Linked DNA regions of Homo sapiens: all the other regions are linked to region 1. Evidence: promoter capture Hi-C in human tissues and cell types (Jung and others, 2019). All regions are on one chromosome and are shown on one strand. The core of a region is centred on a gene start or on the middle of the fragment in contact, and the rest is flanking DNA. Distances in the headings are between cores, read along the strand shown.

What was found. Contacts are between HindIII fragments. The study calls those that stand out against the background at their distance.
Region 2: a fragment that was not itself captured here is called in contact with the fragment with the promoter of SMARCD2 in region 1 in 1 of the 25 tissues and cell types used here (pancreas).
Region 3: a contact is called between a fragment that was not itself captured here and the fragment with the promoter of SMARCD2 in region 1, in 1 of the 25 tissues and cell types used here (aorta).
Region 4: a contact is called between a fragment that was not itself captured here and the fragment with the promoter of SMARCD2 in region 1, in 1 of the 25 tissues and cell types used here (dorsolateral prefrontal cortex).

What each region holds. Positions count from the first base shown.
Region 1 is chr17:63,838,770-63,845,414 of GRCh38, forward strand. SMARCD2 (SWI/SNF related BAF chromatin remodeling complex subunit D2) reads right to left here and starts at 3,916. Exons shown (of 13, transcript NM_001098426.2): 1 at 3,690-3,916. The coding sequence starts at 3,905. RefSeq lists enhancers at 520-814, 2,839-2,918, silencers at 520-814, 3,639-3,868, 4,239-4,408 and a cis regulatory region at 5,518-5,907. The HindIII fragment of the contact is 13,907 bases long and covers 1-6,645 here.
Region 2 is chr17:63,388,741-63,395,385 of GRCh38, forward strand. It overlaps TANC2 (tetratricopeptide repeat, ankyrin repeat and coiled-coil containing 2), which reads left to right. Exons shown (of 28, transcript NM_001394998.1): 16 at 1-17; 17 at 568-804. The region is part of intron 2 of LOC105371856 (a long non-coding RNA gene); the gene reads right to left. Among named protein-coding and RNA genes, the nearest start is that of CYB561, 54 kb to the right of the region's middle. The HindIII fragment of the contact is 5,988 bases long and covers 1-5,621 here.
Region 3 is chr17:64,227,736-64,234,380 of GRCh38, forward strand. The region is part of intron 1 of TEX2 (testis expressed 2); the gene reads right to left. Among named protein-coding and RNA genes, the nearest start is that of TEX2, 32 kb to the right of the region's middle. The HindIII fragment of the contact is 5,262 bases long and covers 474-5,735 here.
Region 4 is chr17:64,201,955-64,208,599 of GRCh38, forward strand. The region is part of intron 2 of TEX2 (testis expressed 2); the gene reads right to left. Among named protein-coding and RNA genes, the nearest start is that of TEX2, 58 kb to the right of the region's middle. The HindIII fragment of the contact is 3,761 bases long and covers 2,460-6,220 here.

The DNA of each region.
Region 1 (6,645 bases), core at 2,666-5,165:
ATGCAACGAGCACAACCAGCCAACCAAGCCCGGCAGGGTGGAGACTTGTACCAAATCAAAGGACCCTCCCCCACCCCAGCATCATGGAGATGAGATTCTTCCCCAACCTCTTCATCCCGCACTAAACCCATGTTCCCAACACAGAGGGTCAGATTCTTGACCAGATGCGGAGATGGAAAGAAACATGACCCACAGACGTGAGGATGGGGAGAGGAGGAGCAGGGTGGGACGGAAGTGTTTGGGAGAATAAAAAGTTCAAAGTGGGGGGCTCTGGGGCTTTGGGAGTCCTGCCAAAGTCTCTCTGCATCAGGAAGAGATTAATCAGAGCTGTTGAAAGGCAAAAGACAGCCTCTTTCTCTGCCTTAAAGATTGTTCTTTCTCTGGCCTGAGATTATAGAAAAAAACTAAGTGTGGCTACAGCTGTAAGCCCAGGCCCAGACATCCCAGACTAGTTTTTCCTAGTGCCTGAGACAAAGACAGGGAAGAACTGAAGCAGTGGGTCCTGCAGAGGTGAGCGAGGGCCCTGTGGTCCCCAGGAAGCTCCCTGCTGCAGTGTTCACAAAACCTGCAGCACCACCCATCCCTCCTGGGCAGGTGCTCCGGTAACAGGAAGTCCCAAGACAAGGCCTCATAGGCAGGGTCTGGAATAGGCTCCACCCAGACATCTGCTCCAGGTTTCCTGGGCCCAGAGCCCCTGGCTCACTCAGGGCCCCAGGGGAAGGCTGCTTATAGTTCAAGTCCCAGCTGAGCCTTGCCAAGCTCCATAGGGCTTATAGGCGCTAGCAACTCCTCCCACTTCAAAAAACAAAACAAAACAAAACAAACAAAAAAAAACAACTCAGGAGTTAAAGAAAAAAAAAAAAGCAGTCCAGCACTCTGAGCCTCCCTAACTCCCTGCCTGCAGCAGGACCAGGTAGGCCTGGATCAATCCCCTGAACCCCAGATGAGGAATCCAGGGCTCCGGTGAGCGTGCTTTGCCCTGCCCCAAATGTGGCCCTGATGCTCCTGGAACCTGGGCCTGAGGGCCTCAGTTGGGGAACATACCACCCACTCTCCCATGAGTAAAAAGGATTTTGAGGCCGGGTGCAGTGGCTCACGCCTATAATCCCAGCACTTTGGGAGGCCGAGGCGGGTGGATCACAAGGTCAGGAGTTCGAGACCATCCTGGCCAAGATGGTGAAACCTCGTCTCTACTAAAAATACAAAAAAATTAGCCGGGCGTGGTGGTGGGCGCCTGTAATCCCAGCTACTCAGGAGGCTTGAGGCAGAGGATTGTTTGAACCTGGGAGGCGGAGGTTGCAGTGAGCTGAGATCATGTCACTGCACTCCAGCCTGGGCGACAGAGTGAGACTCCGTATCAGAAAAAAAAAAATTTTTTTTTTGAACTTTTTGAACTCTCTGGAGTGAACCCAGCAATCTGAGGTTTTTGTTATTTTGTTGCCCAGGCTGGAGTGCAGTGGCAGGATCATAGCTCAATGCAGCCTTGAACTCCTGGACTCAAGCAATCCTCCTGCCACAGCATCCTGAGTAGCTGGGACCATAAGCGCACACCACCATGCTTGGCTAAATTTTTTTTTTTTTTTTTAAGAGATGATGGTCTCACTATGTTGCTTAGGCTGGTCTTGAACTCCTGGTCTCAAGTAATCCTTCTGTCTGGGCCTCCCAAAGTGCTAGGATTACAGGTGTGAGCCCACCATATCCTGCCCTGGAGGTTTTTTTCTTTTCTTTTTCTTTTTTTAGGTTCCTCTGTTAACTGTGATCCACAGCTAGAACCACCCTCTGGAGGAAGGGAGGTCATCACTTCCCTTCTTTCAACTATTTGCTCAGCTTGGGCCTCAAATTCTCACTTTTCAAGTGCATCTCATGAGCCCTAACAGACAGGAACCCCTTTGTTTCCCAGATCTCAAGTCCCTTCTCCTGGCAGTCATACAACTGGACTTGGAAAGAAGGCAAATAGGATCCTCTTCAAACTCAGCCAAAGTTAGCTGGCTGGGTTCTCCTTCCCATCTACCTCTCCTGCCAGGAGGAGGAAAGCTAGTGGGATGGGAAACCCAGACTCAGGGCCATCTCCTACTTCCGCACAGCTAGCAGCCCAGGCCTAACCAGCCAGCCAGCTTGGCCTTGCCACAGGCCCAAGGCCACCCCCCACCAAAACATGTGGAATCCATCCTCTCAGGGGCTGTCCCAAGGGCACATTTCCTATGGCTTGCATGCCAAGGAAACTGGAGCGGCTTGTCTGTTCCAGGTCCTTCCAAGGCCAAAGGCCCACAGATGGTGCCCAGGCCAGGTCTCAGTGGGCAGGCCCAAGGGCTACAATGAATGATGCAGGGAGCCCTCAGCAACACCCTGGGCCCATGAATCCCCAACGGGGACAGCAAGGTGGGAGAGATGAGCCCCAGCTGGAATCCCTGGGACCAGGTCTGTCTCTGCCCATACCCAGACTCTCTTTTCTCTTGAGAAAGGAGGAAGAATGAGGAGTAAGAAGGAAAAAAAAATCCAGTCACTGTCCCTAGTTAAGCCATCTCCTTAGAAGTGAGGGCCCAGTGGGGCAGGTAGGCTGTGTATACTCCACGAGGATCCCTAAGGACCTCTGCCTGGAGACATGAGTCGAAAACAGAGGAAGCCCACAGCAAACCCGTAGATGAGCAAGAAGCCAGTGTCAAATGCTTGGGCACATGGCTTCGGACGTGGTGGAGTTAGAACCTGAAGGCCAAATAAAAATGCAGAGAGGGTGACAAGGCAGATGGGCACAGTTTCCAAGCCCTCTGGGGCAACCTGAACAGCAGACTAGAGCACTGGCAGGGTCAGGCTGAGGTCCTCACACACTGAGCAGAAGTCGCTGCTTTGCAAGGGCTTTTGAAGCTGCAATCTGAGCAGCTCTCAAAACCCCAAAGGGGTCAGGACAGCACTCTTTGAAGCAACTCTCGCAGACTCCTCCGGCCCCAGACCAGCAGGGCTCCACTCTGCACGTCCAGACTAATCAACTCCCGGACACGATGACAGGAGGCAGAAAGCCCAGAAGAGAGCCGGCCTGTGACTGGGCTGGGCCTCCCCTCAGGCCAGGCCACCACCGTCTCTGGTCTAAGCTGGAGTCCTCCCAGCGAAGGCGCCTGGCCCTGCCTCAGGAGTAAAGTCCGCCCGTGCACAAGCTGGAATCCCCTGGCCCTAGCCTCAGCGTCCCGTGCCCGTGGGAAGCCAGGCTCCTTCCTCCTTATTAGCAGCCGGGAGCCATCTCAGACACGCTAGAGCTCCGCCAGTTCCCAATCAGAAAAAACAGGGCAGACTTGGACTGGGACCAAGGCCGATGCAGGGTAACCCCGGTTTCTCAGCGAGGGCCCTTTCCCAAACTTTCTCATCACTTTCCAGCCCTCCTACCCTAGACTTCTCAACCCACCCGCCACAATTCACTGGCTCCCCAAACTCCTCCATCTCCCAGTCACTCGGAATCCCTGTGCCGCGGAAGCCCCCAGGCCTCCCAGCTGCTTCCAGCCCTCCGCTGCAGAACCTGCTTCCCCTTCCCACTTCTCCACCGCGACCCGCCGCAGCCCGAGGGTCCCGGCCCGCCCTCCACCGTCTCCCGGAGTTCCTCATGCATTCCCCAGGGCCCTCACTCGAGGCCCCTTCAGCCGCCGGCCCGGGCGCCCTCGCAGCGCCTCTCGCCCCCGTCCGCTCGCGTCCTCCTTGCTCACCTGGTACTGCGCCGCGGGGCCCGCGGGGCCCATGGGGCGGAAGGCGGCGGCCCCGGGGCCCCCCACGCCTCCTGCCGGACCCGGTCCCCGGAGCGCCGGTCCGGGCAGCATGCCGGGTCCCGCGGGGGGAGGCGGCGCTCCCAGGGCCGCAGCCACGGCGCCGCCGCCAGGGCTTAGCGGGGGCAGCGGGAACCCGCCCGCGCCTCGGCCCGACATCGCTCCGTCCCGTCCCGCGGTGCCGCGATCCGGACTCCGGGCTCCGCGTCGAGTCCACTCCGTGCTCTGTGCTCCGCGATCCGGGACTTGGCGATCTTAATTCCGGGTTCCGGGATTTGTCGATCCGGGCTCCGGGATTTCCTAATCCAAGTTCGCGAGTTCCTCACAGACCCGGTTCGGGACAGATTCCGCTCCTGCCCGGGAGATTCCGGATCCAGGATCTGCTGCGGGCCCGCCTTCCGTCCCCGGCCTCCGGAGGTTTGGCCGCCCGAGTCGAGTTACCCAGAGGCGGCTACGAACTCCCTGCCCCGCCCAACCCAGCCCAGCACTAGGCCCCGCCTCTACCTGGTGCCCAATGCTCGAGTGCCTCCTCGAATCCTGCCCCTCGCGAGACCCGCCCCCAGCGGGCACCGCCCCTAACTGCCGACCTCAGAGCCCCACCCCCCCACCTTTGGCCCAGCCTTTCGTCGGAGGGGCGGGAGCGGAAGCTGCGCGCGGAAGCGCCGAGTGAGGCGCGGGGTCAGAGGTCTAAGGTCACTTAGGGGCTTCACAGTGAATGAGCCGTTGCTACTACTCTCTCCCGGTATAGCACCCTCACCGAATTCCGCGGCCACACTCCCCGAAAATAGTTTTGTCAAGTCTCCTTTCTGCATCTTCGGCGTTAAAGACTCAACTCAGAGTCGGTAGCTGTGGCTCACGCCTGTAATCCCAGCGCTTTGGGAGGCTGAGGCGGGCGGATCCCCTGAGGTCAGAAGTTCGAGACCAGCCTGGCCAACATGGTGAAAACCCCGTCTCTACTAAAAATACAAAAATTAGCCGAGTGTGGTGACGGGCGCCTGTAATCCAAGCTACTCGGCAGGCTGAGGCAGGAGAATCGCTTGAACCTTGGAGGCAGAGGTTGCAATGAGCCGAGATCGCCCCACTGCACTCCAGCCTGGGCGGCAAGAGTGAAACTCATCAAAAAAAAAAAAAAAAAAAAAAAAGACTCAGCTGCTCTGTGGGGCAGAACAGCAGCCAACTCAACTTCCTGTAAAAGCTCATGCTGGTAGCTCGGAACTGCCAAGGGACCTAGGAGGCTCCAGACTTGACCCAGCTGGTGAACGGTCGACTTGGCCAAGGCTGAGTTCTACCGCACATTTTTAACGTGGCTCCGCCTCACTTTAAGGAAGCCTGGTACTTTACTCCCCAGAAAATGCTTCTAGTCAAAAGAAATTTGGCTTATGAGAAACCTCCCCGCAGTTTAAAAAAAGAGGTCTTTCTCCAGTATTTATAGCACTTAATTTTCAAAAATGCAGTATCTTTTCAGGTACACTGTGCTGTATCAAAGTATTCAAAAATGCGTCAGCTGTGCCAGGGAGCCTACCCTCTGATGGTCTGGATCTCCTCGCCGTGATATGGACCAGTGCTGCTTAAACTTTAATGAGCACATAAAAAACACTCGAGGCTCTTATTAAAAATGCAGATTGTGGCAGGGCCCAGGACTCTGCATTTGTAACAAGCTGCCAGCGATGCTGTTGCTTCTCAGACCACACTGTCAAGAAGCCGGGATCTAGACTTTTTTTTTTTTTTAGTTTTTTTACTATAATTGCTTTATTTTTCCAGCCCCAACCAAGTAATACTTCCTTCCTTGCATCATAGCACCCCAGATCTTTTTTACAGTATAGTTCTCCAGTGCTTTTTAGAAATTAGTTCTCCTCATGCCTCTAGTGATAAACACCGCTGCTGCTGTTTTCTTACCTCCTGAACTTAGAGATCCCACTCTATTGCCCCAAGAGTCGATAACCTGTCAGTCTGGGGACTGGCCACTGGAATTGTTAAAGTCACTGAATCATGGCCCCTCCCATCCCTGTAAAGTGGGTTAAGAGTTCATGATAAGGCAGCTAATATCCATTTCAATCCTTTTAAGCTTCTAGAACAACAGTAATTCTCAAAGTGATAGGGGCAGTGGAGAATCAGAGTCCTCTGGGAAGCTACTCCAAAATACCTCCGCCAGCCACCCCTCCAATCCAATGGCTCTCAGTATTGTATTTGAAAAATAAGCTTCCTAGGTAATTCTGATGCGACCCAGTGGGTCGCATCAGAAAACACAAGATTTTTTCTACCCTAGAAAAGGGGCAAGCTAATAAGTGCATTTAAAAGCAGATCAGCTGGGTGGAGTGGCTCACACCTGTAATCCCAGCACTTTGGGAGGCCAAGGTGAGTGGATCACTTGAAGTCAGGAGTTCGAGACCAGTCTGGCCAAGATGGTGAAACCATGTCTCTACTAAAAATATAAAAATTAGCTGGGCGTGGTGGTGCACACCTGTAATCCCAGCTACTCAGGAGGCTGAGGCACGAGAATTGCTTGAACCCAAGAGGCAGTGGTTGCAGTGAGCAGAGATCGTGCCACTGCACTCCAGCCTGGGTGACAGAGTAAGACACTGTCTCAATAATAATAAAGCAGATCAAACGGTTAAATATAACTCAGTTCCTGTCAATCCCTTGTTTAAAACCCTCCCCAGCTCCCCATTGCTCTTAGATTGAATGTCACACTCCCTCCTGTGACATTTAAGGCTCTGCAGGACCTGGTCCCTGCTTACCTCCTTGGGTTCATTTTAAATCACTGCCTTTGGCTCTCCAAGCATTGGCCCAGATGGTCTCCTTGCAGTTTTTCAAACTACCCATCCCCTTCCCATCTCAGAGCCTCTCTGTTCTCTCACACCCTACTTCCCACCAAGTGATTATCACAGTACATCATTAC
Region 2 (6,645 bases), core at 1,378-3,877, 450 kb before region 1:
ACACTCCAAATATAAAGGTAAATTTATAAAGAAATTATAAATATGATAAGGAATTAACTATGAAAAAATAAAACTAGAAGGACATTAAGTAGCTATTTAGTTGATCTTTGACTTGTCTTTCTTATTAGCCTTTTATTGATAATTTAATATATTTTAAATTGTTAAATTTTATTCTATAAATTAGAGACTAGCTCCATTGTCCTCTTAACTTCTATAAGCTGACTCTGACATATGGGATCAGGTCCTGCTGGTTCCAAAGAGTAAATTGATCTCAGGTAGCCTTTGTCTTGGTAGGAGCTTTTCTGACCAAGAGCTCACTTCGTAGAGACTATGTTCAGCACTACAGTATAGGAGGCAATTGCTCTAGTTACTATGCCATTTATGTAAAGGAGATATTTTACATTATCTACCAAAGGAAAAGAAAAAGGAGCAAATGAGATTATAAAATAAAGCAATTACTAAATGCTACTAGACACTGTTGTAGAATGTTAGATGGTTTAATAAAAGATGACTAAAAGGATGTGACTCCTGTTTGTCTAATTATTAGTTCTGTTTGTTTATTTCTAGGTCAGCCGACTGCTGATTTTGGGAGGTGCCAATATTAATTACCGGACAGAGGTTTTAAATAATGCTCCAATTCTATGTGTTCAGTCCCATCTTGGTTACACAGAAATGGTAGCCCTGCTGCTGGAGTTCGGGGCCAACGTGGATGCCTCTTCTGAAAGTGGCCTGACTCCCCTGGGATATGCTGCAGCAGCAGGGTACCTGAGCATTGTGGTGCTGCTGTGCAAGAAACGGGCCAAGGTACTGGCTGCCCAGCTCTGCTGCTTTTCTTCCCTTTTTCTTTATTTTCGATGCATACTCTTTCTTATCTCCAGTGTTACTTCATGAGTCTGGGTAGAGTATATCAAACCATGATGGAGAGGAGATCAGAGAGAGTGCTGGTTCTGCATATGTGCAGGGCCACTGCCATCCATCCTGCAGGAGCACACAGTTCTAAACCCTTTGAGAGGTGCTTGGGAAACTGCATTTATCCGTAACCACAAAAAGTTTCTACATAACAACCCAGAAATGATCTATTGAGCTCAGAAGAAGCCTCTTTTTAACAAAGAGAGGAAGGAGAAGTGAGGAAGCCAGGAGACTGCAGTGGCAGGTCTGGACCAAATGACACCTGCAGGCTCTAAGCCTTTCATGTGTAGAGAAGAAAACTTAGCCATGGAGATGAGAACAGGACCAGACACCTTCATCCTGTCCTTGAAGACCACCACTCTAGAGATAAGGGGAGAAGATGATTCTCCCTATTTATACTCAGACTGACCAAGGGCACCTCGAAGTGCTTCTGTTAGTACTGATCAGTTCTCTGAAAATATTTCCAAAATATGTTTGCTTTATGTATAAAAACTCGATTTCACAATATTGGTGAAAAGAAAAATGCTGGTCTCACAAATGTGGGCCTCTGGGAAAAAAAAGTCTGGCCTCATAGTATTTTGTTTCAGTCCTGAAAACAAACTGAGGACTTTAGTGGTTTCATAGTGAAATACAAGTCATAGTATGACTTCATTCTGCGGTATTCAGTGCTGTTACGAGGGGAGAAAGTGGGACTCCTCCACTCCTTTGGGAACTGAGACGTAGGCCTCTCAATGACATCTCAGAGCCTTAGAAGTTTACTGTAGCACAGTGATTGTGCACCTGTGACATCCCATTCATTTGAATGGACACCTCTAGGAACAATGATAACTGGGCCTCGTTACTATTTTCGTTTTCTTTTTAGAGACAAAGTCTTGTTCTGTTGCCTAGGCCAGAGTGCAGTGGCATGATTGTAGCTCACTGCAGTCTTCAGCCTCCCCAGTAGCCAGGAGTATAGGTATGTGCCACCACACTCAGCTTTATTTTTTTCCTATTTTGTAGAGGCAGGGTCTTGCTATATTGCTCGGAGGTTTGCTAAAACTCGTTGGATCAAGAGATCCTCCCACTGTGGCCTCCCAAAGCGCTAGGATTACAAGCATGAGCCACGGCAGCCAGCCCTTCTTACTATTGCTGTCACTTCATATTCTGATCTTAGCTGGGTCTTTCCTGCTGTTCAGCCCTTACACTGCCAAGCCATCCTTTTCTTCATCTTTCATTGTTTTCCCCAGAGCAGAAATGTAACTCATATGTACTTCTTTCAAGATCCTATCACGCCTCTTCTGCCCTTCATCACTGTGATCGAGCTCATCTCAAGGTGCCTGTATCTCAAAACTCTTATCAGTTCTTACGTACGCTCACCTCTACTTTGCCTTAGAGAAGGAAGTACTTACCTTCCTTTCCAGAGCAATTGTCTCCTCCTCTACACTCTTAACCCACGGTGTTGCTCATTCTCTCACGTTATTTCATTCTTTTTCTAAATTCACACTACCTTTTTTCTCAGTTTCTACAAACCTATGAATGTAGAAACCTACCTAACCTAAAAAAGAAATGTTCCTCTCCCTTGCTAACCAGAAGCAACATCCCATCTCTTCCCTTTCACCTCTGCCAAACCTGTCCTAAGAGTCCTCTATACTGGCTACATTCACCTCTTTATTACTCCTTAACCACTTGCATTCTGGCTTCCATGAATGAGAGAGGAGGCAACTCATTAAAATGATAAGCTTTAGGATCAGACACAACTGGGTTAAATCCTGTGTCCATACTTAATTTATACAAGGGCTTGAACAAGTCACTTAACCTCTCTCAATCGCACTTTTCATCTATAAAAAGGGTGTTAAAAGAGTCAGTGTAAGCATTGAAAGAGATAAAGCCTTTTTTTAAAAGAGGTGTTAAAGTCTCTTTTAATCTTATATAGTGCCTAATAAATAGTATCTGTAAAAAAGAAAATAACCCAACCTCCCTACATTCTACCAAGCTGCTCTTTTAAAAGTCACTAATGACTGCCATTCACCAAATAAAGCAGCTTTGTCTTATTCCTCACATCTCTGAGCCCCTCCATAGTATTAGCAATAATAAACCTTTTTTTTTTTTTTTTTTTAAACAGAGCCTGGCTCTGTTGCCTAGGCTGGAGTGCAGTGGCACCATTCTTGGCTCACTGCAGCCTCTGCCTCCTGGGTTCAAGCAATTCCCCTGCCTCAGCCTCCCAAGTAGCTGGGACTACAGGCGCACACCACCACGCCTGGCTAATTTTTGTATTTTTAGTAGAGATGGGGTTTCACCATGTTGGCCAGGCTGGTCTTGAACTCCTGACCTCAGGTGATCCACCCACCTTGGCCTCCCAAAGTGCTGGGATTACAGGCGTGAGCCACCGTGCTCGGCCAGTAGTAAACTTTTAATGTCATTTCCCACTTCTCTGGCTGCCCCTCTCTTCTTCTTCTGATAGAACTGTTCACTGAGATCCTCTGGTCTTCCTTCCGTCCTCATACTCGCCATGGCTTCAGCATTAAAGTCATAGGCTTTGGCGTCAAACCCGACTGGGTTCTAGTTCTCCTACCTACATTTTGGTGACTCTTAACCCCAAATTGCTAATTTCTGAAAGTGTTTTTGAGCTGTAGTTTCACATTTGTAACTGCTTCCTTGGCAGGCATGTTCATATCCCTGACTAGTTAGTTCCTCAGATCCAGCTTTCTAAAATCACTCAGCATCTTTACCCTCCTCTTTCTGGATTTTCAAAGTCTGCTAATGTAGCCTCCGTTTTTCTCAGAACTAGGGAGTCATTGACATCTTTCCCTCCTTTGCCCTTCCTAATTCATTTAGTGGCCAGCACTTTTCAATGTTATCCTCAAAAGAGCTTGAGAAGCTACTCCTTGGTCTCTACCCCAACTGCCACTATCCCCCTGAATTATTCTTGGAGTCTTCTTGTGTAACAAACCCGTTTTTCAGATTCTCATCTCATCTATTACACACCATCCCCTTAGCTTTTGTAGAGCTTTTATTTTGAAGTAATTTTAGACTTTCAAAGATACTGCAAAAATAGTGCAGAGACCCAACACAAAGAAATGATACACGTTTGAGGTGATGGGTATGCTAATTACCCTAATTTGATCATTACACATTGCATACATGTATCAAAATATCACACTGTACCCCATAAATATGTACAATTATTGTGTCAATTTAAAATAATAAAAGTAAATAAAATAATTCTCTTGTAGGCAAAAAAAAATGCATAGAGTTTCTATATATCCTCCATTCAGCTTCTCCTAATGTTAACAGCCTAAGTAATTGTAGTCTCATTATCAAAACCAGGAAAGTAATTTGGTGATAATACTATTAACTAATCTACAGACCTTACTGAAATTTGTCCAACTGTCCCACTGATCATTTTTGCATTAGAGAATCCAGGTCAGGATCTCACATTACATTTAGTGTTGTGCCTCCTTAGTCTCCTCCAACCTGTGAGAGTTTCTCAGTCTTTGTTGATCTTTTATGAGCTTGACAGTTTTGAAGAATACCAGCCAGTTGTTCTGTAGAATGTTTTTCAATTTTAGTTTATCTAATGTTTTCTCACTGTGAGATTGAGTGTATATATTTTTGGCAAGAATACCACGTAAGCAATGCTGTACCCTTATAAAAATGCAGCACTAGAAGTCCCTGCTGTTGATAGGTCTTATTACAGGTGGTGTTAACCTCAGTCACTTGGCTACCCTAGACCTGCTCACCAACACACTGACCATATATCAGTGATGATGCGACATTGTCCAAGAAAGTACATACCAAGGCCACCGCACAATACCTGTCCAAAAAGGCCTCCAATACGGAATAATGTTCTTCATTATTTCAGAAGTCTTTTTCTTCGCTGGATTCTTCTGAGCATTTGATCACTCTAGCTTAATCCCTACTCCAGAATTAGGAGGACATTGACCCCCAACAGGCATCTAAGGTAATGTCTTCCAGGTTTCTCAGCTCTGAAGTTACTGTTTTTCCTTTTGTAATTAAGAAATATCTTTTAGGGTTATGCTTTTGAGACTAGAAAGACAGACATCCTGGTTCTTGTCATACTTTTGTCCACTAATATTAGGATCCATCAGTGATTCTTGCTGCAGTAAGTATTATTATTATTATTATTATTTTTTTTTTTTGAGAGGAGTTTCACTCTTGTCGCCCAGGCTGGAGTGCAATGGCATGATCTCAGCTCACTGCAATCTCCGCCTCCCAGGTTCAAGTGATTCTCCTGCCTCACCCTCCGGAGTAGCTGGGATTACAGGCACCCACCACCACACCCAGCTAATTTTTGTATTTTTTAATAGAGATGGGGTTTCACCATGTTGGCCAGGCTGGTCTCGAACTCGTGACCTCAGGTGATCCACCCGCCTCGGCCTCCCAAAGTGCTGGGATTACAGGCATGAGCCACCATGCCCAGCCACTGCAATAATTATTGCTTTGATGTTTGCCTAACAGTGATTTTCTACTTCCATCATTCCCTCAACATGTATTAATTGAGATGTTACTGAAAGGGAAAGCGATCCCTTCTCCCCCATGTATTTATTCAAGTATTTATTGATATTGCTATGAAGTCATGGATATTTATTTTATTCCATAGCCTGAAATCCATTACCATTATTATTCATTTTCATTGTTCACCTTGCCCCAGATTTGGCCATTGGGAACTCCTTCAAACTGATTCCTGTGTCCTTTCAACTTCCCTCTATTAATTTTTGAGCATTTTCAGACTTTCTGACACCACAAGATGTTCTAGTCTCATCTCTTACCCCAGTCCTGGAATCAACCATTTCTCCAAGGAGCCATGGTTTCTTTTATCCATTCGCTTAGTTTTTGAAAATACAGTTCTGAGCATGAAAACACTCAATGACTTCACTGCCTATTGGTTACAATTCAGACCACTTAGCCTGGCATTCAGAAATATCCATGCTCTGTCCCAAAAGACCTTTTCCGCCTTAGAGTTTAAACTTCCCTTTCATGTGCCCTACTCTTACAAAAAGTAGAATACATTAATCATTTTCCATCTCAGCCAGTCAAGATAGACCTTTCTGTCTGAATCTGTTCCTGATTCTAGCCAGGAATTAATCTTTCCTTCCTCTGAAATGTTATTTCACTTTTACATTCCTTTAAATTTATTGTATACTCCTTTGTTGGACAGGCTCTTGTCACATTGGTCACATCTCCCCTACCTTGTTGGAGAGTCCTTGAGAGCAGAACCTATATATTTACTGTCTTATTCACCTAAGTGGTACTTTGCCACATACTCTGTATTCAGTAAATATTCACTATGTGGATGGCTGGATGGAACTGAAATCAGTAGGAAAGCCAGAAACAGAACTTATATTTTCAACTGATCTAACTACCGCAGGACAAGTACCACCTACCTACCAGAAAAGGCTACTCATCTAATGAAAGGCTACTCATCTGTTGAAACGAAGGCCCTTCTGGTAAATCAATCTTGATCAGGGTCTTCTTTCAGCCTAAACTTGTAACCAACACTGAAATTATGAAGACTGCTACTGGTGCACTAAGCCAGAAGTGCCTCTAGCCATTTGGGGCAGATCTTTGAGAGTCCTCCCTCCTGCTGGAAGAGAGAAGCAGACTTTGCCAAAGTTTGGTGGTCAAATGATTCATGATGTGAGATGTTTTGCTTCTTTGGAAGGCCAAAAAATTGTAGCTTCATAATGTTTTTCTTCCCTTTTTTGATTTCAAAGATAATTTTTTTTATGCCAGCAG
Region 3 (6,645 bases), core at 1,855-4,354, 390 kb after region 1:
TCTGGCCCTCTGGCAAATCATTTACCCTAACCAAGCCTAAGCTTCTTTTCATCTGTAAAATGGGAATGGCAACTGACTGTTCAGAAGATTAAACGAAACAACTTAAGCAAAGCACTGAGCATGATCCCTGGCACAGAGCAGCCCTCCCTAATTGTTTACTGTTCTTATAAGCATTTTCTCAAATCAAAGATTATTTCATGCATGATTTTTAATCGCTGTATAGGATGAATATTCCATAATGTAATTCAAGAATACCACTTGAATTTCTTATTACAAACAAGACTGCAATGCTGCACATGATGCTATAGATAAACCTTTGACTAGCTATAGATAAACCTTTGACTGCCCTCTGGTTATTTCCTTAGGAAATATTTCTAGAAGTGAAATGAGAGAGTTGAACCATATGTATACATCTTCACTTCAATAAAAAATATATAATTTCAAACTCATTGAAAAAAACTTCAAAAACAGATGTAGAGGAAAAGTGAAATTTTCTCCTCCTCCCTGCAAAATCAGCTTCATGGAAGACAATTTTTCCACGGACCAGAGGCAGCGGGGTATGGTTTCGGGATGATTCAAGTATACTGCATTTATTGTGCATTTCATTTCTATTGTTATTACATTGTATATAATGACACAATTCTACAACTCACAATAATGTAGAATCAGTGGAAGCCCTGAGCTTGTTTTCCTGCAACTAGACAGTCCTATCTGGGGGTGCTGGGAGACAGTGACAGATCATCAAGCATTAGATTCTCATAAGGAGGAGCAACCTAGATCCCTCGCATGCGCAGTTCACAGTAGGGTTTACACTCCTATGAGAATCTGTGCCGCTACTGATGTGACAGGAGGTGGAGCTCAGGCAGTCATGCGAGGGATGGAAAGGGGCTGTAAATACAGATGAAGCTTTGCTCACTCACCCACAGCTCACCTCCTGGTGTGCAGCCTGGTTCCTAGCAGGCCATGGACCGCTCCTGGTCTGTGGCCCGGGGATTGGGGACCCCTGGTTTAGAACGTATCTTTCCAGACCTTTCATAGGCATTTTGTGTGCATACAAAAGGTAGTGCGCACAAATAAAGTTGTTTTTGTTTTTACTTTTAAATGAGATCATATTATACAAATTGTTTTGCATTTGTTTTTTACTTACTATTTCTTGGACCACCTCCTATGGCCTATACCTATGGACTGACAGGTACACACACACACACACACACACACACACACACACACACACACCTTTTCTACACAGTAAGGTATGCCACTATTAACTTAATCATTTTTTTATTTGATAGAAATTTGCAGGGTTTCCTGTTTTCACCATTAGAAACAACGCTGCCTTTAAAAGCTGTGTTTCCATATAAATCTTGTGCAAAAAGAAAGTCTATCTGTAGGATGTATTTCTAGAGTGGAGTTGCTGGGTCAAATGAGGTACATATTTAAAATTCTGAAACTGTTTGCCAATTTGTCCAATTTACTCTCCTAATTAACATTGTATAAAATGTCCACCTTCAACCCTGGTCAAGACTGAATATTATTTTAAATTTCTGCCCATTCAGTGGGCAGGGAAAAGGTATCTCAATGCTTTGATAGTCACTTCATACTTTTCCCTCATTTGCTTCTCTTCTTCTGTTAACTGGTCGTTCATATTTCTTGCCCAAGGACTTTTGTTATTCACTTCTTTATCAAGGATAGTTAATACTTTGTCTATTGTATGTGTTCCAAATATTTCCTTCCATCTCTGACTTGCCTTTTAATTGTATGGGTTTTTTTTTTAATATACAAAGTTTTACATTTTGAGATGTTGAAGCTCTCTATCTTTTTCTTTATGGCTTCTGGATTTTTTTACAGCTTCCTGATGAAGCCTTCCCATTCCATCAGCATAAAAACATTCGTCTTTGAAATCTTTTTAGAAAACGCTGACAATAGTGTATATAACACACATAACACACATATTGCTCTGTTTCCTATACAAGGATCTAAATTTTAACTTTGGAAAAACTGACTGATATGGACAATCATTTCTCTATTTTCTAGCTATAATAAACTGTAAAGCATTGAATTTATTCCCTTCAAATCATATTAGGAAATTAGACAACCTAGCTTACATCTAGGTTGATCACTGGCCATTCAGCTTCTCAATGTGAGGAACGTATTTCAGATTAATTCTTCAAAAACTGAAAAAACTCTTTAAGAACTCAAAAAAATTAGCCGTTTCCCCCAGTCAGAAACCCTCCTTTTCACACAGGCATCAGCAGACTTAACCTTGATATAGGGCAGTAAATTTGCTAAGTGTAATCTTACATCAGAATGTTATTTATAGGTAAGGCATCTGAGGGCCAAAGAAGATAAATTTTTTTAAACCAGGTTTAAGATGTGTGCATGCATGTGTGCACATGTGTATGTGCATGTATGTGTGCACACATGTGTGTGTAGGGGAAAGAGTGGGACTGAGGGAAATAGGAATTGATGGGAGGAATATGAGAAGGCATGGTGGAAGGTTTCCCAGGGGCCCCGTGTGAGCTGGCCCATGGGGACCTGACAAGGTGCCCCGCCAAGACAAAATGGAGAGTACATTTTAAGTGGAGGACAAAGCAGAAGAAAAGGAATAGAGGCAAGAAACCCAGAGCCATGTTCACAACTGGCAAGGTTAGGAGATACTGGTTCCTGGCACAGGCATGGTCCTGACCTGGCCGGCTGGCCACCTCATGGTTCCCTGAGGAGAACCACTTGCCTATAGGCCCTGAGGGGGAACATTCCCCACCCAACTCTACCTCTGTTGTGGATCATGCCAAGAAAGGATTGCCCACTGATGAGATGATTGGGATTCAGACAATTGTTCAGTTAGTAGTAAATCAGTCATTGAAAACACAGACCGAGTGAGGCCATGAGGCAGCAGAGGGAGGAGCTCCACGGAGGACCACAGCCCTCAAATGGCCCTCAAATGACAGTGACGGAGCTCCCCACTTCACCTCCCTGAGCCTGGGGTTCTGCTGTAAACTGAGGGAAGCTTCCTCCATTGTCTTCAAGGAATTTTCCAGAAGGCTCTAAATTCTAAGAGTCTATGACTCAATTTCCATGGAACAGAACATACTTAGAGTCCTACTTTTCTCTTTTGTAACAAGAGAAATTCTTGGCAACTGTTAAAGTCAAGGAAAGCAAACCAGAGTGCACATCAGCTGACTAATGTGCCTAAGGCAATTAAGTCAAAATATTTTTCAAATAGTACTGAAACAGCTCATCTCCCATTAACAAATACTTCTAGACTTTCCAGACTTGTCTTGCTCAGCCCAGCTGTAGAAACATCCCTTATGTGTGCTGGCCATTAGGTGGAGAGTTTCCAACCTATGAGAATGAGCTGCAGATCAGCCGCACCTGCATGTGCTCAGGCACCAGAGGACAGGCATCAACTTGGCCTCCTCAGCAGCCCCTATCTTTCCCCCACCTACTGCCAAACAGTACAGAAGGTGACTGTGAGGCTGCTCCTGCTCAGGCTGTGATGGGGTTGAACTTCATGGGGCTCTCTATCCCAGTGCTTCATTAGTTCTTACTCTGTACAAACATCACCCAAGCACCACTTCTCAGCCTCACTAAGAATCTTGAGTCTCCCACCAAGTACCATATATGTGCTTCAGGCAACCCTGTGTGGTCACTGTTGTGCCCATTCAAGTCTGAAAAACTCTGAGGCTGACTAAAGGACGGAACCAAAGGAGAGACTGAATGCAGGCTGGCCCTTCACACCACTCTGCTCTAGGAAAACTAACACAGCCTCATGTGGACAGGACCGTCTCTGGGGTTCCTGTTCGCCAGCAACATCCACTCTATCTTGTTTCAGTATTAAGCTTCTGTCACTTTAATGCATATTAATAGATGTGTTTGTCATTATTAAGGTGGAAGGTGGTTAGATTCTGAAGGGAGGTGAGAACTGAATAGGTCCTGGGGTGCAACACAATTGCACAGAAAACCTGGTTAAGAACTCAAACTCTGAAATTAAACAGACCCAGCTTTGGATTCCAGTTCCACCTCTTATCAGTGTGTCACCCTGGACAAGTTACGGCAAAAGGCCTCTTTTTCCTTACATATAATGCAGATAATAGTGCCTATCTCATAGGGGCTGCTGGGAGAATTAAGAAATAACACTTAACATATGTAAGCTACTATAATCAGCATCCACAGCAGGTGTGAGCACATCTTTTTATCCGTGCCGACTCAGCCTGTGGACTCACCGGCATGTTATCCGGGATCAGACAGCTTGTTTCCAGCCTTCTCTAATCACCAGCACTGGACTGTCCTGACTGTCTGACTTTAGGTTTAGTTCAGGCAGCTGTGACCATTAAGAATGACACAATGACAATGTAAAAATATGTACTGTACATATACATCGTAATACAAAATGAAAAGGCAGAATTTAGGATGATGTACATCACCTAGGTAAATGAACACAACAGGATCCTAGGAGGCTTATAGAGACTAAGTATTAATAGTTGGTGTTTCGTGGTGAAAGAGTTATTGGTGTTTGATTTCAGTGAAAAGCTGATGAAAAAGGATCTTTTTTAAATGAGAGCTGTGGATAAGATCTGTAGTTTCATCAACCTCTTTTTTTTCTGTCCCCTCCCCATGTTGGCCACATGTTTTTCAATATTCTTACATTGTTTACCAGTAAACTGATTAATTCTGTGTATTATTCTTCCATTTCAATACTGATCCAAATTTTAATCAACAATCCATATTTATAAGGGGTTCATAATGACATTATAAAAATCAAGTCACTGCCACAGGTGTGATAATAAGCATAGCTGAGCAAGCAAGAAACAATCAGTGGCTTCATTTCCATAGTCAAGGGCACTCACATTCAAGGTCAACCTCATTCTAAAGGTAGTGGGAAGTGAGACCTGGTACCAGCTCCAGTAACAATATCTACAGTTAGACCAATCCTGTGTCAGAAACTCCTATTATGTCATCCACAGCCAATCAGAACGTGGAGTCAGCATGAAACCTTCCATACAGGGTTGCAATTCCAAACAAAAGCAAGGAAACTTGATGGTTTGGGTAGCTTTTGTATGTTCATCCTGGGTAAAAGCATAGTTTCTGTTAAGCCTTTTCAAATGCTGAAAATGGTCCCTGGTTCCCATGGGTTCCTTTGCAGATGGCATGAGCCCAGGTCAGCTCCACCTAACAGACTGCTGGTGAGACAACTGATCATCCCTAATCATTACCTTCTTAATCACAGTTCTAAAAAGGCAGAGGCATTTGGGATTGAGGGAAGGGTTAGTGTACCAGAAAATCCTAGGCAACATCTTCAACACACAAATGACCCAGCTCACCCCTATCCATCTTGAGGCTTATCATGATTGTGGAGTTTCACAACTGATGGATTGGAAGACATTTTTTTAATTCCCCAGTCATCATAAGCCTATATGTGCACAACCACACACACAACTACCCCACCCCCAAACACACACACATACCCTGCCCCGGGGCCCACCCTGGAACTGAGATTCACTGGTGTAAAACAACTTGGACCATTAGGAATGCATTACACTTTAAAAACACACATGCGGCCTGGTGTGGTGGCTCGCGCCTGTAATCCCAGCACTTTGGGAGGCCAAGGTGGGTGGATCACGAGGTCAGGAGTTCAAGACCAGCCTGGCCAAGATGGTAAAACCCCATCTCTACTAAAAATACAAAAAATTAGCCAGGCGCGGTGGCAGGCGCCTGTAATCCCAGCTACTTGGGAGGCTGAGGCAGGAGAATCGCTTGAACTTGGAGGGTGGAGGTTGCAGTGAGCCAAGATCGCACCACTGCACTCCAGCCTGGGTGACAGAGTGAGACTCCATCTCAAAAAACAAACAAACAAACAAAAACACATGCATACCCAGAAAGAGACAATGGAATCACGAGGAATTCAGGTGGAGATATAGTACCAGTTATTCCCTGGCACCAATAACTAGTTAATATAGTCTACACCTACCTTGCAAGGCACCATGTTAGAGGCAAGTGCTTTCTAACAGGCTATTGCTGTGTAACTACATCAAAGAAGGGCAAGTCTCTATCAAGGTCAATGAACTCATTTAAAATATCTGAAGAATCAGAAATGGGCAGCTGCTTCCATAGACACAGGGCACAGTGAGACCATGTCCTGCTCCTGATCTTCACTACACATGCCTGTACTGTTTGCCCTTGAGTTGTGGCCTTACCTCCTGGGACGTGGTCCTAACCCCCCAACTCAGATCCTAGGTACAGAGCTGGCCCCCGCCAGGGCCTCCATGGACGCCCATTCCTGAAGGTCTGTTCCATTGCTGTCTAAAGGCCAAAAGCAGAGCAGAAGGCAGAAATAAGGGGTAAGGAAAAAAGGCAAGTGGAATAAAAAAGAAACGTGAATGCATAAAGGAACAAGAAAAAAGTGTTTCTCAGCAGATTGGGGAAAATAAGCACAAGGAGCATTTCATAACCAGAAATACAAGTACACAGCATGGAACCACACCGTCTAATCTAATTCTGGAGGTGCTATAAACCTGATGGCTGTATTGGGGCTCCATTTGACATTTCAAAGAAACAAACGCTGTAAAATTGTGATCTTGATGTTTTTCTGTTCACAGGTCCAATATCTGCCTAACAGCAGTATCCTGTCTTTCCAGATGATTAGCG
Region 4 (6,645 bases), core at 3,090-5,589, 360 kb after region 1:
CCCTCACAGCTTATAAGTACAGTGCTAGCTGTGTGAGACGAACAAGCAAAGGAAGAAGCTGACGCCCTAATAAGTGCAAGGAGCTGTAGAGGTTACTTAGAAGACTTGGTCACTCTTCTAAAAAAGAAAAACCAAGGTAAAAATGCACAAAATAGCACAGAACAAGAAAATAACCCCAGAAACCAAAGATTTTCAGGACAGAAATCGGATGGGCTAAGTCTTATCTAGAGCAGAGAGGGGTATTGTGACTGGAGCCCATGTTTCCTGCCCCCTATCTAAGGCTCTTTCCAGAACACTACAGGCTTTGACAGGAAATCTTGAGAGGATCACAGGAGTTGCTACTTGACCCCACTGTCAGGAACCAGGTTGCAGACTGGCCTTAGGGAGGCTCAGGACAAGAGGCTGAGGCACAACTTTCCTCCAAGCCTCCCTAATTCTGCCCCTTCACACTCCTACTGACCTGAAACCAGGTTGCTCTTGCAGAAAGCAATTTCCCGGTGCAAACCTAATCACCTTTTGATACCATTAATCAGCCATTTCCCCCCACCCAGGATCTGACCAAGTCCCTGGATTAAGCTGCAAATGAAATTTCCAGATTTCAGCAATTGTCGAATCTTGAGAGAAGCAGCAACTCCAAGGTCTTCATCCTGTTCTCCATATAGTGCCCAACTATCCACTGCTCAGCTGTTCTAAAATTCTTAAGCCTGAATTTCTTACCAGGTAAAGTATTCATCCAACCTTGTTATGAGACATGGGAATGGGTATAGAGAGATATGGCATATAGATAGCAACATTCCATTTCAACAGCTCAACCGAAAACTCTGAGATGCTCTCAACCCACACTAAAGTGACTCAGACAAGCTTTGTTTCTTTCTGAAGCTAGAGCTGTTAAAATGGACACAGTGCACCCCGCTGGGGACAATGACCCAGTCAGCCAGGCTGCAGCTGTCTGGCCCACAGACTGGTCCTGTGATGGCATTTGTAAAAGGTCAGGGGTTTCTCTCAATTCTCTGCTGGATTTAGAAGCCACGTATGGCTGAAAGTACAAAACCACAATCTATAAAGGGGCCATTTAATATTTTAAAAGATTAAAAGCTACAATTAACCTTTTGCAAAATAATAAAGTCTGGAAGAACTACTACCGTGCTTTCAGTTACAGTGCCAATCAGAAGTTCAAGGCCAATGCTCTATTGCTCAGCTTGATACTGAGCTGACCAGAGAAAAGTGCCAGCCCTATAGCCCGAGGAAGTGATGAGAATTCAGGCACTGTGTGCCTGGCTGACAGCAGTAACAATGCAGCATGTTTTCACCCTGCTGACATGTGGCTGTGCTGGCATTTCAGTCCACCTGTCATTCAGATCCCTGTATCATTGCTTCATCAAGTGTATCAGGGAAGGAGCAAATCCTACACAAGAATAGAGCCAGGGCCTGAGGCCCCTCCTGTTGAAAATCATCTCTGAAGCACATAAAAAGGTAATTACTCTCTGTCTCCAAAACTAAAACATAAGCAGGATTTTGTCTTTACCAAGCCTAAACCTTTTTTGATGTATTAATGGTTTAGGACCAGCATCATCAGTATCAGAAACACAGCACCATAGATCATGGAGTTTGAGAATATGGCAGGGGTGGGACCGTCTAATAAACTTTATAGGTCCTGAGATACAAATTTGATTTTACCCATGAAAGGCAAGCAGACCCACAGACATCCAGAATTCATACTATAAATGATAGCCTTAAGCAGGGAGTCAACATTCAAAATAAATGCTGCTCAAAGACACTATAAAGAACATTAAAAAAAGAAAAGAAAGAAAGCCCATTAGGGGAGGGAAGCGCCGTTAATACCGTCCACATCCTCCAACTGCCTGCTTCAAGGTCACCTTCCCAGCAGTGACACTAGAAGCACTGGAGTCAGGGCTAAAGCCACAGCTTTATCCTGCTCTCCTATCCTCCAGTGCAGAATCTCCCAAACTCAGGTGGCCATAGAACATTTTTGAAATTATAATGCACTGACAGACAGTAATAGAATAGGAGATAACGTGGATTCAAATTAGAAAGGTAAAATGATCTCAGATGAACCACTGAAATGACCAAGGTCTGAGTTACATTAATACATGATAAACATTAAATCATATTAACAAGGGTTAAAATTGTAAGATAAATAGATCAGCAAGCAAATAAATTAGCAGCCTCTGTCACTTTTCAGATCACGCATTCTATCAAACAACTTTTTGGGTATGTACAAATATATACTTTACTTATAATTTATACACATGTCCCAATATATACAGCTTTTATATAAAGTACAGAATAGAAATAAAGAGCAAAAGATGAAATAATTATCCTTTTGATAATTTTTAGTTTTTCCAGTATGACAGCTTTGTACTATCTTCAGCTGACACCTTAAGGCACAATACATACACTCAAGGTGAGGATCACTGTTGATGATCCTGAGTGTAAATCTGTATTTCAGAGTCTTACTGATAATTTCCAAGGTTTTTGGCCAAAAGTCGATATATGGTCATCTGTATGTTAAATATCAGCAAGGCTTATTTACTTTCTCAACTAGAAAGAGCAAAGACTGATACAGACGGAAACTTTACTGTTTTCTTCTTGATTAGTGTCTTCTGCAACCCATTTGAACACCACTGAAAGAAGCAATGGAATGAAAACAGTGAGTCAACAACTATGGCCTGGGCACCCACAAAAAAACACGCTCATGCCCTAGAACCATCTTGCTGGCAAACTCATCTTTGGAGTACAGCAAACCTCTTCTTAACGGCTAATTATTGAACAATAATTACAATAAGAATCTTCGATGTTTTTGCTACTTTTCTTACAGAGTTCAGAAGGTATTTTCAGGATGCTAAAAACTGTACTTATATATAGGTAACCAGAATTACAATTCAGCCATGCCATAAGTTAATGAATTGAGTGAAAAACTGGCAAAATGTTGACAATTGTTGAAACTGGGTGTCAGGCACATGGGGGGTTCATTTTACTATTGCCTCTACTTTTGTCTGTATTTAATATTTTCATCAATAAATAGTTTAAAAATGAAAGTTCAAAAAAGTCATTTTGGGACTACCTGACATCCTTAACCATATTGTTCCTATGGAATTCAGGAAGCACGTTCCACACAGCTGCCTCTCCAACTTCAACACAAGGGGTACCTTCTGGTAAGTGAGGGCTGCCTGCATCAAAACATCTCACTGATTAGCCGTGCATGGTGATGCGCACATGTAATCCCAGCAACTCTGGAGGCTGAGGCAGGAGAATTGCCTGAACCCGGGAGGCAGAGGTTGCAGTGAGCCAAGATTGTGCCACTGCACTCTAGCCTGAGCGACAGAGCGAGGCAAAACAAACAAACATACAAACAAACAAACATCTCACCTGAAAACTATTCTACAAGGGGCACTGGGAAATAGCCATGTTTATAAAAACCATACATAAAAACTCAGGTAACCCATTATAGGGGCAGGATATTTTCAGTAAAGTATAATGTAGAAAGAAATGCACTCACATTTCTTGTCCTTACTCTAAGTTATAAGAGACCAACAAAAAGCAATCCAAGTCTCTTTGGGCTGCATGTAATGGCCATTTTCTCCTAAAGACTTGCTTACTCTAATTTCTTGAAAGAATTTCAACAAATTGAGATTAAATTTACAAATTGGAATTTCTCCTCAAAATTGATCATGTCCTCCCCCCAAAATTATTCTTTTATATATCAAAACCAAAGCCTATATTCAGGGAACCTATTTTTAAAACCTATCCCTCTTATTAAATATCTACATGTGACACAATCTAAAGAAAAAAAAGTTCTCCAAAATCCATTTCTATTAGTTTCTGCAATGGCCTAAATATAATTTTAGTCAAACTTGCAGGCCATATCTTTAAAAAAGAGATGGATTATCACTCTGGAAACCAATATGCTACTGCTGTGTTCTGCTGGTGGTTTATAAATCTGAGATAAAGAATTTGCTCGTGAATATAATTCAAAATTGCATCTGAGTCATATACTCAAACATAAATCCAAGACCCTTATGAAATCTTCAGGAAGCTTTTCATTATAAACATGTAGAAAGTTAGTGTGCAACAGGAATGGCTCTGAATTAAAAATAATCCTGGGCAAGGGACCATCTGATTTGGCTAAGCAAACATGCCAAGTGCAGTTTGCTGACTCTAAATGCCCCATTTTCCCCGTGCCCAAACCCACCCTTTCCCAAGGTCCCCAGCTTAGGGCATCTAGACAGTCACCCAACATAAGAACTCCTGAAGGCTACCACACAGGGGGTGTCACTACAGGGATGCCATTGGTCTGTGGCACACACGAGGCTCTTTGCCTTGAGCTAACCTGCCCAGCCCACCATGCTCTAAGTCCTATGAGCTTCTTCTCACATTTTGGTATTGGCCTTTGTGCCAATACCATGTGCATTCACATGCCACTTCCTGTTGAATGCCTGTAGCAACCTTTCTCCTATTTGCTGCTTCTCATCAGCTATGAACTCCAACATACTAAGAACAAGCAAGCTTTGGAGGAGGTCCTAAGAATTCTTCTGTGGACTTTGTGACAGCTCTTTGGCCACATAGAGGTCTTACTTTTTTTTTTTTTTTTTTTTTTTTTTTGAGACGGAGTTTCGTTCTTGTTGCCCAGGCAATAAGAGTACAGTGGTGCGATCTCAGCTCACTGCAACCTCCACCTCCCAGGTTCAAGCAATTCGCCTGCCTCAGCCTCCCAAGTAGCTAGGATTACAGGCATGCCCCACCACACCCGGCTAATTTTGTATTTTTAGCAGAGAAGGGGGTTCCACCATGTTGGCCAGGCTGGTCTTGAACTCCTGACCTCACATGATCCACCCACCTCAGCCTCCTAAAGTGCTGGGATTACAGGCGTGAGCCATCACACCCGGCCTCTTTTTTACTTATATTCTAGACAGTACAGCTGCTGATCAAATGGGTTCAGAGCGGGAGACGGCGGAGTACCATAGGGCCTAGACAACCACACAACAGTCTTTGAGATTAGCTACTACTTGGCTGCAAATTGGTCTTTTTGGTTTGTCATCCCATAAATGTATCACTGCTGCAGCATCATATATAAATACATATGTCTGCAGTGAGGACCCTGATAAAGTACACAAAAACTTTCCTTTTCTCCATTCTTTCCTCAGCATGTGAAGTTACACAGAAGAAAAACTGCAATGCTCCTTGAACTGTTCATGGAACCAGTAAAGGGGCAAGACTCTTAGTCCAGTCTGGCTGCAAGCAGTTCCTGGACCCATCAGTGAGAACTTATACGGCTCAGAGGTTCAAAACCACATGGTCTCCTAAAACAGTCCCTGAGCACCCAGCTCACTGCCTGACTGGTTCACAGCTCATATATGGAGTCCTCTTAGGGCATAAAGTATGCGGGATCTCGGTCCTGGGCTGGGCCTGTCTTGGAGATCTCGGTCGCAGGCAGGTATTATAGTCTTCCATATTGGTGAGCTTTTTAAAAAGGCTTCCGTACCTTCCCTCAAGAATTGCACCATCTTCTGTAAATACCAACTAAATTGGATCAGATGTACACAAAATAATTCAAACCAGCTCACTTATCCCCTGAAATCAAACATTTTCAATAAGTGGCTCTTTTGGCTTGCCCTAGAAACAAGTTCACAGGCCTGTTTTATAAAGAAACCAAGGTCTATCTCCTACATCACTTTAAAGCCATCAACCTGGAGGCAGAGTGGAAATCTGGAACTCATCACTGCCCACTTCTCCAATCCTCCACTTAGTATTTGCCTTTTTTTTTTCTTTTTTTTTTTTGAGACGGAGTCTCGCTCTGTCACTCAGGCTGGAGGGCAGTGGTGCGATCGCAGCTCACTGCAAGCTCTGCCTCCCGGGTTCACGCCATTCTCCTGCCTCAGCCTCATGACTAGCTGGGACTACAGGCACCCGCCACCACGCCCAGCTAATTTTTTTGTATTTTTAGTAGAGACAGGATTTCACTGTTAGCCAGGATGGTCTCGATCTCCTGACCTCGTGATCCACCCGCCTCAGCCTCCCAAAGTGCTGGGATTACAGGCGTGAGCCACCACACCCGGCCAGTATTTGCCTTTCTACTACTCCCTTTGCATTCAGGAGGGCAGCACTGCGTGAGCACTGGTCACAGGAGAGCAGACTTGGGTCACCAGTCGATTTCTAAGCAACAAATGTCAAGCTTCAAATCCTGTTAAAGATGGACTGTCTTGGCTTGTCCACTTTCAGAAAAAAAGCTTAGGAAAAGCTTTACTGTTTTGTTTTTGTTTTTGTTTTTGTTTTGTTTTTTTGAGACAGGGTCACACTCTATTGCCCAGGCTGGAGTGCGGTGGCATGATCACGGCTCAGTGCAGCCTTGACCCCCTGAGCTCAAGCGATCTTCCTGCCTCAGCCTCTCGAGTGGCTGGGACTGCAAGCTGCGCCACCACACCTGGCTTTTTAAACAAAACTTTTATAGAGATGGTGGTCCCACTATGTTGCCCAGGCTGGTCTTGAACTCCTGACCTCAAGCAATCCTCTGCCTTGGCCTTCCAAAGTGCTGGGATTACAGGGGTGAGCCACCACGCCCAACCAAAAGCTTTACTTTTTAGTAATTATTTTCATTTTCTTAAAAGATCACTCCTATTAAACCCT